Linked DNA regions of Homo sapiens: region 1 is linked to region 2. Evidence: promoter capture Hi-C in human tissues and cell types (Jung and others, 2019). All regions are on one chromosome and are shown on one strand. The core of a region is centred on a gene start or on the middle of the fragment in contact, and the rest is flanking DNA. Distances in the headings are between cores, read along the strand shown.

The links. The method cuts DNA at HindIII sites, captures the fragments that hold promoters and counts their contacts. A contact is called where the count stands out against the background at its distance.
Region 1: a contact is called between the fragment with the promoter of ZBTB8B here and the fragment with the promoter of SYNC in region 2, in 1 of the 25 tissues and cell types used here (adrenal gland).

The regions. Positions count from the first base shown.
Region 1 is chr1:32,460,639-32,466,440 of GRCh38, forward strand. It overlaps ZBTB8B (zinc finger and BTB domain containing 8B), which reads left to right and starts at 4,434. Exons shown (of 4, transcript NM_001145720.2): 1 at 4,434-4,467. The HindIII fragment of the contact is 24,686 bases long and covers 1-5,802 here.
Region 2 is chr1:32,700,440-32,706,283 of GRCh38, forward strand. SYNC (syncoilin, intermediate filament protein) reads right to left here and starts at 2,331. Exons shown (of 5, transcript NM_030786.3): 1 at 2,169-2,331. The coding sequence starts at 2,221. RefSeq lists enhancers at 1,799-2,564, 2,565-3,330 and silencers at 2,691-2,740, 2,791-2,880. The HindIII fragment of the contact is 12,190 bases long and covers 1-5,844 here.

The DNA of each region.
Region 1 (5,802 bases), core at 3,184-5,683, 240 kb before region 2:
TTATACCCTGATACTTCAATCAATTACTCTGGCATTGTAGAAACTAATAAACAGCTCCAAATATTCTATGATATCTTAAATCAAAACAATTAAGGAAGAGGCAAGGGAAACAAATAGTGCCTGCTGCGATGCTTTCTCATTTCCCTTTGGGAAGATAGGGTTGCTTGTTTTCCAGGAAGTCATCCCTTAGGAATTTTTTTTTTTTTTTTGACAGAGTCTTGCTTTGTCACCCAGGCTGGAGTGCAGTGGTGCCATCTCAGCTCACTGTAACCTCCACCTCCCAGGCTCAAGTTGATTCTCATGCTTCAGCCTCCCAAGTAGCTGGGATTACAGTCGTATGCTACCACACCCAGCTAATTTTTGTATTTTTATTTTTATTTACTTATTATTTTGAGATGGAGTCTTGCTCTGTTGCCCAGGGTGGAGTGCAGTGGCAGCATCTCTGCTCACTGTAACCTCTGCCTCCTGGGTTCAAGCGATTCTCGTGCCTCAGCCTCCCGAATAGCTGGGACTACAAGTGCGTGCTACCATGCCTGGCTAATTTTTTTGTATTTTTATTAGAGAGGCGTTTCATGTTGGCCAGGCTGGTCTCAAACTCCTGACCTCAGGTGATCCACCTTCCTTGGTCTCCCAAAGTGCTGGGATTGCAAGCGTGAGCCACTGCGCCTAGCCTAATTTTTGTATTTTTAGTGGGGGGTGGTTTTGCGATGTTGGTCAGGCTAGTCTCGAACTACTGACCTCAGGTGATCCACCTGCCTCGTTCTCCTAGTGCTGGGATTATAGGCGTAAGCCACTGCACCCAGCCAGCAATTTTTAATTCTCTATTTTTTGCTCTGGAGGTCCTAAGTTTTAGATTCAGTGACACATTGCTGTGCCATTCATGCTGCTGGGTACTGTCGATTAGCAGTCAGCATCCATTCCCATCTCCTTCTAGTGTCCCTTCCTATGCTGCAGAATCTGGAGAGTTAAAATGTCATGGCCAGGATTTGGAAATGAAGTGGAGGCCACCCGCCTGCTGCTTGCTGCTGAAGTGTGGCAGCAAAGGTATGAGGTGTGTCTGCAGCAGGGTTGCAGGGTCCAGTCACTAGCCATGTAGGGGTCGAGAGCCTGTTTCAGGGGCAGCAATAGTGATGGTGACTTCCAATCCCTTAATCACAGCCACAACAGTGTGTTGTTGAGCTTAACAGGTACAGTGGTGATGTCCTGATTTCTTACCTTCCTGATTGCAGCAAAAATGGGTAGCTACCCTGTTGGGACAGTTTGGAGTCATCCCTGCAGAGTCATTCTCTAGCCTCCCTGATAATTTGTATTACTTAATTCCTTATATGAATTCTTTTCTGTTTAAACTAGCCAGGTTGCTTTTTGCTTAAACTAGCCAGGTTGGTTTTAACTGAACCTTGAAAAATATACTGAAGTTCAGAGCATCTAACACTAAAGGTTGTGCTGGTCTTGGTGGCGAGAGTAAGTCCCACAGCAGACCACAACAGATCTAGAGATCATAAGGCCTCTAACATTTCCTATGCCTAGTTGTCAGGGGCATGTCCTATGCAGGCCACCCCAAAAAGCCCTTTTACGTTAGCAGTCTGGAATGTTACTAGGTCATCCAGTACAGGTTGCGTGTGCCATAGTCATAAAATTTGGGACCTGAAACTTGGAGCCTGGATGCAGGAGATGTGGAATGAATACTAGGGTGAGTTCCAGGTACAGTCATAATTAAGGTGAAGGCATCAGTGACATGACTTCCCAGGTAAGAAGATACAAAAGGCTGAGCCCAGAGAAGCTTGGTGCTCCTCACTTCTGATGCTTTCTCTGCTGCTATGATGATCAAAAGTCCTCAGCACCTGAGCTGGCCTTTGGGAACCAGGTGGCAAGGACAGCCACACTAACAGGAAAGATGTAACTGCTGCTGTCCCTCTCTGGGTATCCAGCTTTACAAGAAATAGGTAAACTACTTTTCTTTGATAGATAGTATAGTGGTGTTTGGCTGACATTTTACCTTCTAAAATTATTAAGTTATCTTTAGAGTGAACTGCAATTACATTTTTGACAAGCTCTAAAATATATCCTAAACAAACCCCTCCATCTCTACCACCTCTACCCTATCCCCAGTTATCAGCATCTATCAGCAGGGGAGAGATCATATCTTATCTCTTCCCTGCTTAAGATCCTTCGAAGGTGTCCCTTCACATTCATAAGAAAAAATCCAAACTCCTTAAGGTGGCCTACAAATTCCTACATAATCTGGCCTTTGCTTCTCTATCCATTCATATTTCCTGTCGCTTGGACTGGCTACATAATTTGTGGGGCCCAATGCAAAATGAAAATGCAGAGCTCCTTGTTCAAAAACTACTAAGAATTTTAAGAGGGCAATGGCAGAGCATTAAACCAGGCATCAGCCCTTTCCTTTTTTTTAATTTTTAAAATATTTATTTAGATTTTCTTTTTGTTAGTAATTAAATCTTTCTTCTTCTTCTTCTTCTCCTCCTCCTCCTTCTCCTTCCTCTCCTTCCTCTTCCTCTTCTTCTTCTTCCCTCTTCCCTCTCTCCTCCTCCTCGTCCTCCTCCTCCTTGAAACAGTGCAGTGGCACAATCTCAGCTCACTGCAACCTCCACTTTCCATGTTCAAGTGATTCTCATGCCTCAGCCTCCCGAGTAGCTGGGATTACAGGTATGTGTCACCATGCCCAGCTAATTTTTGTATTTTTAGTAGACACTGGGTTTTGCCATGTTGGCCAGGCTGGTCTCAAGTGATCCGCCCGCCTCAGCCTCCCAAAGTGCTGGGATTACAGGTGTAAGCCACCGCACCTGGCTCTTTTTTTGTTTTGTTTTGTTAAGTATAAAACCTCACCTGGAAGCACCAGCCCTTTCTGAGTGTGCGGGCCTGTGCCACTGCGTGGGTTGCACGTCCATTAAGCTGGTCTACCTGCCATCCACTTCCTCAACCCAATGGCATTCTCCTGTTTCTTAGATATGTACCAACCGGTTTTCTGTTTTATCTTAGCATGGCTCACTACTCCTCATTAGGGTCTCTCAGCGAAGGGGGTAGCCTTTTTTTTTTTTTTTTTTTTTTTTGAGACAGAGTCTTGCTCTGCTGCCCAGGCTGGAGTGCAGTGGCCAGATCTCCACTCACTGCAATCTCTTTGGTTCAAGCATTCTCCTGCCTCAGCCTCCCAAGTAGCTGGGATTACTGGCCCACGCCCGGCTAATTTTTGTATTTTTAGTAGAGATGGGGTTTCACCATGTTGGCCAGGCTGGTCTCGGACTCCTGACCTCAGGTGATCCACCCGCCACCACTCCAGCCTGGGCAACAGAGTCTGAGACTCCGTCTCAAAAAAAAAAAAAAAAAAAAAAAAAAAGTCATACTGGCATAGAGTGAACCCCTAATCCAATATGACTGGTATCCTTATAAAAATACTTTTTTTTTGGAGACGGAGTCTCTCTCTGTCGCCCCAGGCTGGAGTGCAGTGGCGCGATCTCGACTCACTGCAACCAAAAGGAGACATTTTGACATGGAGACATATACAGGGAATATGCCCTGTGAACATGAAGATGGCCATATGCAAGCCCAGGAGAGAAGCCTGGAAGAGACCGTTTCCTCACAGCGCTCAGAAGGAAAGAACCCTGCCAACATCTTGCTTTCAGATGCCCCCAGGATTGTCAGACAATAAGATCTGTTATTGACGCCACCGGGTTGGTGATACTTAGGTACAGCAGCCCTAGCAAACGAATACACCCCCATGAGAACTAAGCTCCCTGAGAGCGGTAAGCTGCCTTGTCTTGCTCACAGCTGACAAGAACACGCCTGTACGGTCACTTAGCACCTAGTACTGCCATTTAACCGTTTCACTAGTATGTATGAACCGGAGAGCCTGTCAAGGGAAGAGCTGAATCTTTTATCTTTTGTAACGACTACCCAGTGAAAGAAACCGCGGGTATGCAATAAAAACCTGTTGAATCGATTAAACCATTTCCCTTATTTCCAGATTTTTGCGGAAAGCGCCAGTAGGTGAAATATGTGCGGACTGATGAGTCAAAGCTCTTATTCCCTGGACTGCATTAATACCCACGACGTGCTTTTCGCTCTCCAGACAAAGAGACCGGTACTTGGCAGGTCCCTCAAGTGGGACTCAAAAGACCGAACCGAGCTGCAGCCTTTCGCTAGCACTGGTCCTCGCCCCTTTTGGCATCTTGGTACTTGTAGTTTTGTCCACTCTATCTTTACCCGAAAAGCCAGCGCTGAGACCACAACTCCCATCACCCTGCGAGCACCAGCGCCTTCAGAGCGCATCCTCCGAGGGGCACCAGCGCCATTGACCACCCTGCTGGCCGAAGGGCCCGCCTTCCCGAGGCCAGGCGCTCCCGCGATTGGCCAGCCGCCCCGCCTCTCATCGGAGGGCGCCAGGTGAATGAAAGGGGGGCGTGTCGGTGCGCGGTGCTCCGTGGCTGCGCTGCTGGAACCCGCTGGAAGGTGAGCGCGAAGAAGCGGGTTGGCGCTGCCGCTTTCGTTGGTTTGGGGAGGATTCCTAGCACCCGGGAGGCTGGCTGGAGATTGGGGTTAGCGGGCAGGGTTGCCCCCACTCAGTCATCCTCCTTCGGACCGCTTGGCCCTGGCAACTCCTGGGACCTCCGCCCCGCGAGCCCTTCTAGCGTGGGGAGGGGCAGGCGCGGCCGTGGGGCCCCAGCTTCCCTGTCATTGGGTGTCCTCCGCGTCGTCCAGCCGGGGGTCGCGGCGCCGACTACTTCCACGGTGAATGGTGCCCAGGCGTGGGGGGCTCGGCCACACTGGAGAAGTGCCAGCGGCAGCGATGGCCACTTTGTCCGCGGGAGGCCATGGGAGGGGCTAGGCCTTGGGGTCCCACCCTCGGGGGCCGTGCCCTGTAGCTGGTTCTGGTGGCCTCTCTGCAGGTCGTCTGATGCTGGACGGGGGAGGGTCTGTCTTGCGAGCAGTTTAGATGCAGTTGACCCTGAAATTCTTCGTATGGAAATGGAAACTTCTCCAGTGTCCTTCTCCTCCGATCCATGCCTAAAAGAAAGGAGTGACTTCCCCAACCTGTCGCATCGTGTCCTGGAGGGTTTGAGGAGGCCGGTTAGCATAGTGGTTAAGGATGTCAACCCGGGAGTCAGTCGGATCTCTGTTCTATTACTAACTTGGTGATGTTATCTGCATCTTTGAATCTCAGTTCCTCCTCTGAAAAAGAGGATGTAGTTAGAGTATCTGTCGTACTGGATTATTGTGAGGTGAAAACTAATGTGCTTGTAAAAGCCAGGCATGGTGGCGCGCACCTGTAGTCCCTGCTACTCGGGAAGCTAAGGTTGGGAGGATCTCTTGAGCCCAGGAGTTCCAGGCTGCATTGAGGTAGGATCGTGCACTCCAACCTGGGCAACCGAGCAAGACCGTGCCTTTTAAAAATTTTAATTTAAAAAGTAAAATGAATATGCTTGTACTTTGTACAGTGTTTTATAAGGAATAGTGCTTAATATTTACTAAAATTGAGGAGCAGGTTTTTGTTATTCTCAGGTTGGTGGGACTGGAGGAGTCTTGTCAGAAAGGGTCGGAGGTGGAATTCAAGGCTGCTTTTGGCCTCTGAACAGAGACAGTTGTGTGATCTGGCTAGGACTCCCTCAAGGGTATATGAGAGTTTGTATTGCAGGTAGTTGTGTTGGCATCTGCTGTCTCCTGGAGGACAGGCACTATACTTGGTTCATTTTTCTATTCCTGGCATCTTCCTTGTGTCAGGCATTGTATGTAGCCGGTAACCGTTGAATTGAGTTGGAACCGTGGGATGGTTGGGAGGTTCCCTGC
Region 2 (5,844 bases), core at 1,081-3,580:
AATCCCAGCACTTTGGGAGGCCGAGGCGGGTGGATCACCTGAGGTCAGGAGTTTGAGACCAGCCTGGCCAACATGGTGAAACTCCGTCTCTACTAAAAATACAAACGATTAGCTGGGTATGGTGGTGTGTGCCTGTAATCCTAGCTACTCAGGAGGCTGAAGCAGGAGGATTGCTTGAACCTGGGAGACAGAGGTTGCAGTGAACTGAGATTGCGCCATTGCCCTCCAGCCTGAGCAACAAGAGCAAGACTCTGTCTCAAAAAAAGAAAGAAAGAAAGAATCTTCATCTATTATCTCCATTTTATAGATGAGGAAGCCAATGCACAGAGTAAGAACTCACACAAGGTTCCACAACTGTTGTAAGTGGTGGAGGCTGGAGAAGGCCTGCAGTATTTACCACCCTCCTAGGATAGGCGTGAGGTCCAAAAGAGGTAACTACAGCACATATAAAAAGCCTGGCATGCAGCAGTCACAATATACTTTTTTTTTTTTTGAGATGGAGTTTCACTCTTGTTGCCCAGGCTGGAGTGCAATGGTGTAATCTCCGCTCACTGCAGCCTCTGCCTCCTGGGTTCAAGCAAGTCTCCTGTCTCAGCCTCCCAAGTAACTGGGATTACAGGCACACGCCACCACGCCTGGCTAATTTTTGTATTTTTAGTAGAGCCGGGTTTCACCATGTTGGCCGGGCTGGTCTTGAACTCCTGACCTCAGGTGATCCGCACACCTCGGCGTCCCAAAGTGCTGGGATTACAGGCGTGAGCCACCGCGCCGGGCCCACAATATACTTCTATCTATCTAACAAATTTCTACTCATCCTTCAAGCCCTGCTCAAACTTCATCTCTTCCGTAAAGTATCTCCCAGACAGCCCCATGTGTGTTCTCAGGGCACTCTGTATGCAGCACATCTTCACACTTATTGCTCCAGTTACAGAAGTACATGTGTCTGTCTCCCTGATAGTGAGTTTCCTAAGGACAAGCAGAGTTCTCATTCTGCTCTATATCCTAGGGTGGGGCTCTGTAAGGGCAGACAGGCAGAAACCAGATGAACTCCAAGGAGGAAATCTGCCCAAGGTCGAATGGCAAAGCTGGAAGTAAAACCCAGGCCTCCTGACCTCCAAGCTGTGCTGTTAGCACACATCGTGCTGCCTCCACCACCCCACCCATGGTGCCAGGCCTCTGCTGGGTGCTGCCCTCACACAGCCGCCTCTTTTAAACAGAGAGAGGAGGGAAAGAAGCAGATGACAGGAGGCTCAGAGGAGAGGAAGCCAGCTTAGTTGGGGCCCCTGACCTCGGGCTTCCTTGGGCCCTGGGCAGCCTGCCTCTGCCACTCTGTCCCTGTCCCCAGAGAACCGCAGAGCTCTCCAACCCTGTTCAGGGATGTGGCTGGGAGTCCATGTGACATTGTGCAGGCAAGAGTCCGTGTGTCTGACTGTAGCTGTAGGTGTGGACAGCAGTATGGGTGAGTGTGTGTGTGTAAGACCGCTCAGCTTTGTGCCCCTGTGTGACAGTGAAGGGGTGTCGGGAGCTATGTATTTGCACCCTCACCTCTTGGTACACTGGGAAGTCCCAGAGCCACAGTATGACCTGGGACAGAAATACACCTCACCCCAAACCCCTCAGCCACAGGTCCCTTCCCCCAATAATCAGCCGTGCCCTGCCAGGAGGGATAGTGGGGAGGGCCCCTGGACCCTTCCCCCACCCATCCCAGGCCAGACGGGAGAGAACAAGCCCTGACAGACTCTTAACTTCAAGCTGGCAGATGCCCAGCCTTGCACCAAGTGGCTTCCACACAGCCACTTCAGCAGGGGAGGCCTCTGTCTCCAACTGACATTTGCAGGGAGGAATGAAGGCTAGCGAGAAGTGTCTTTGGCTGCTATGGGCCAAATGGCACTTGAGCGGTGGATGCCCACTCGCCTGGAAGGGTTAATTTTCATGTAGTCCCGGGAGGGGGAGGGGTATTATAAAAAGCCACAGACAAACGGAGGTGCCAGGACCCCGGGACGGCCCGACTCCCCGATGTCCCCTCACGAGGCGGCTCCAGTGCCCCACCCCGGCTGGACCACTACCCCTAGACAGGCGAAAGACGCCCGCGGTCGGGGGGAAAGGGAACCCGTCCAGCAGCACCCCTTCCCCAGCGGGGCGGCGACGCGGGCCCGGCACTGTCCTACCTCGCGGCCTGGGCGGCGCCGTCCCCGCCGCGCCGGGGCTCCGGGCTGGCCATGGCTGCGCGACCCCGGGCTGGCGGCCGCGTTATTAATAGCCGGGCCCGCGGGCCCCTCGCTCCGGCGCCCGCGCCCGCCGCACTGCCAGCTGCAACCGACACCGGATCCCGGCCGGCCCCGGGCCGGGCGCGCCCACTTGGCCGGGGCTCCTGCCGGGGGAGGAGGGAGCGGCCGCGCGGACCTGGGGGCGGGGAGAGGCTGCCCCTCCCGGACCAGCCTGGGGCGGGGGTGGGAACGGGGGCCTGGAGCTGTCTTTCCAAACCTCCCAGCCCCCTCGTCTTCCCGAACCTTCTCTCCACCCTTCCTTTCGTGAGGTCCCGTTGCAGGGGGAGTCAGAAGGGGGGTCTGAAGCCCCAGGGAGCACCTTCCCTGTCCAGCCTGGGAGGGTGGAGGCAGGGTTGGGCGGGCTGCTCAAAGGGAGCCAGCACCCCTCTCCCGCGAGTGTTTGGGGGTGTCCGCTGCCGCTCAGCGCCCTCTGGTCCCCACCCAAGAGGGGAAGGGCCGCAGCCACCCTCTGGGCACTCCGGGCTGTCCCCGGCAGCTGTCGTGAAGGGCGGGGCAGGGCGCGGCCGGGGAGGAGGGTTCACGGCCACACCCCGCGCGTTTGGGGACAGCCTGGAGCCTGGGGGCGGGCTGGGTGGCTGGGGTTAGAGAGAACTGCGGAGGAGTTTACGCCTATCACATTGAGTCCATATTTAACCCCACTTTCTGCCCCACCCTTTGAGGCTTCCTGGGGTCTCTCTCCTGCTCCACCTGTCACCCCACTCAGCCCACTTCTGTCAACTTCAAGACATACCTCCCCCCACGTCCTCAGCCCACTAGTGTGAGGGTCAAACCAGCACTGACGTCTTTCTCCCCAAGAGAGAAGCTGCTGGGCCCCTTCCCAGACCTGGGCTTCAGGCGTTCTTCCTTCGGATTCCTTTTTCCACTTAGCTACCCTGTCTGGGGAGGTCTTTGACTCAATCGCAGAAGAATGCTGGCACCATAACAAGCCCCAGGGGCTGGGGTGCCTGGGAGGCCGGTGGGGGAAGCATGCCGTGGTGTTGAATGTGTGTGGGCTTGTGTGCCCCTGTGTGACTCTGCGGTGATTGTGGGGTACATGTCTGTGTGTGAGCATGTGGATGTGTGATTGTGTGATCTCAGGGTGAATGTGTGTGGTGATTGTGCCATGGTGGAGTGTCTTTGTGGGGCTGGCGGTTTTGACTCTGTGTGGGGGGCATGCATATGGTCCCGCTTGTGACTCTGACTGTGTGCTTGTGCGTGACTGGGGGTTGATAAATGTTCATTCATCCTCGCGTCTGAGTGTGCTGCCTGTGGCTGTATATTTATATTTCTCTGTCTAATGCAAGGGGGTGGAAGATTTAACACCCAGGGCAGCCAAATATACCCTTGTAAGGTACGCACGAGAAAAAGCCAGGTTTTGAGGCTGCTGGTCATTTTCTGACTTACCCCCGAACTATTCCAGGGGAGGAGGCTGGCGAAGCCTCAGCTGCTGGGCATTTGACATCTGCTGCCCGCCAGAGGAGAGCTAAGGCAGCAAGGGCAGGCCTGCCAGAGGCTCTGTTTGCTGTGGTACCAAGCAACAGGCGGCAAGGGTGGCATTCAGAAGAGCTGGCTCTGCCCCTCCAACCCCCAGCCCAGGACCTGGCCTTAGGCTGTCCCTAGGACTGAATTTCTGACCCGCTCCTACCCTCCTGCTCAGCGCTTCTTTAGGCTGAAACCCTGAATTCCCCAGGGTCCCAGAAACTTCCCCACCTCCAAGCCTTTGTTGTTGTTTTTTTTGTTGCTGTTGTTTCTTGCAGTCAGGGTCTCACTCTGTCATCCAGGCAGGAGTACGGTGGTGCAATCATGGTTCACGGCAGCCTCAACCTCCTGGGCTCAGGTGATCCTCCCATCTCAGCCTCCCGAGTAGCTGGAACTACAGATGCACACCACCACACCTGGATAATTTTTGTATTTTTTGTAAAGACGAGGTCTCACTGTGTTGCCTAGGCTGGTCTCAAACTCCTAGGCTCAAGCAGTCCTCCTACCTCAGCCTCCCAAAGTGCTGGGATTACAGGAGTGAGCCACCACACCCAGCCAGGCCTTTTCTGCTGCTCCCTCTGCCTAGAAAACCCTTTCCAGCTCTTCACAGCCCACCTTTTACTCTCCTTCAGGTCTCAGATCACATCTCACAGAGGCCTTCTCTGATGCCTCCCCACCCCCTGCCCATAATGTCCACCCATTTATTTTTTTGTTATGGGCTTTTTTGTTTTGTTGGGTTTTGTAAAATTTTATTTAATAGAGATGGGGTCTCACTATGTTGTTAAGGCTGATCTCAAACTCCTGGCCTCAAGGGATCCTCCAGACTCAGCCTCCCAAAGTGCTGGGATTACAAGCAGGAGCCACCATGCCTCACCCCATTTACTGTTTATCCCTGTCACCCTGTTTATTTTCTGTGCAGCACTTATCAATCTGCAACAATACTATTCATTTTCTTTCTTTTTTTTTTGAGACGGAGTCTCACTCTGTTGCCCAAGCTGGAGTGCAGTGGTGCAATCTCAGCTCACTGCAAGCTCCGCCTCCTGGGTTCAGGCCATTCTCCTGCCTCAGCCTCCGGAGTAGCTGGGACTACAGGTGCCTGCAATCATGCCCAGCTAATTTTTTTGTATTTTTAGTAGAGACGGGGTTTCACCGTGTTAGCCAGGATGGTCTCGATTTCCTGACCTCGTGATTCGCCCATCTCGGCCTCCCAAAGTGCTGGGATTGCAGGCATGAGCCACCGCTCCCGGCCAATACTATTCATTTTCAATTATTTTCTTCTCTGCTTCCCCACTAGAATGGAAGCCCCATGAGGGCAGAGACTTTATGTGTCTTGTTTACTGCTGTGTCTCCAGAGCCCAGCACAGGGACTACCACATAGTAGGACCTTAAAAAAATTGTTTGTTTTTGTTTTTTATAATAATAACAATCATTTATTTTACCCACAGATCTGTGATTTGGGCACGGCTTGGTGGAGGCAGCTCATTTCTGCTTCACGTGGCATCAGCTGAGGTGGCTTGCCCAGAGGTTGCAGAACTCGCGTCCAGGACAGCTCACTCATGTGGCTGGCAAGTTGATGCGGTCTGTCAGCTGGGAGCTCAGCAGGGTATTTGGCTGGGGGTCTTGGTTCTCCTCCACATGGGCTTTTCCACGGGTTGCTTGTGCTTCCTCATGGCATGGTGGCTAAGTCCCAACAGTAAACGTCCCAAAAGAACAAGGCAGAAGTGAAAGGCATTTTTTTTGAGCTAGCCTTGGAAGCTACACACTGTCACTGCTGACCTATTCTGTTGCTAAAGGCAGTCACAAAAACCCGGGCCTCCAGCTCATGGGGAGGGGACATAGATGCCACCTTTTAATGGGAAGGGTGTGTCAAAGTCACAGTATAAGAAGAGCTTATGGAATGGGATATAGTATTGCCTCTGTCTTGGGAAAATACAATCTGCCAAAGATGCAGAATCACAGCTTGGTCTTCCACCATCTCCAGACTGTGGCCCTAATCCACACCCATCCAAGACCAGTCCAAGCTCCCTTCTAATGCCTCATTCTATCCAATGAAAGTAAAAAGGAGGGGTCGCTCACCTCACACCACTTCTGATTGTGT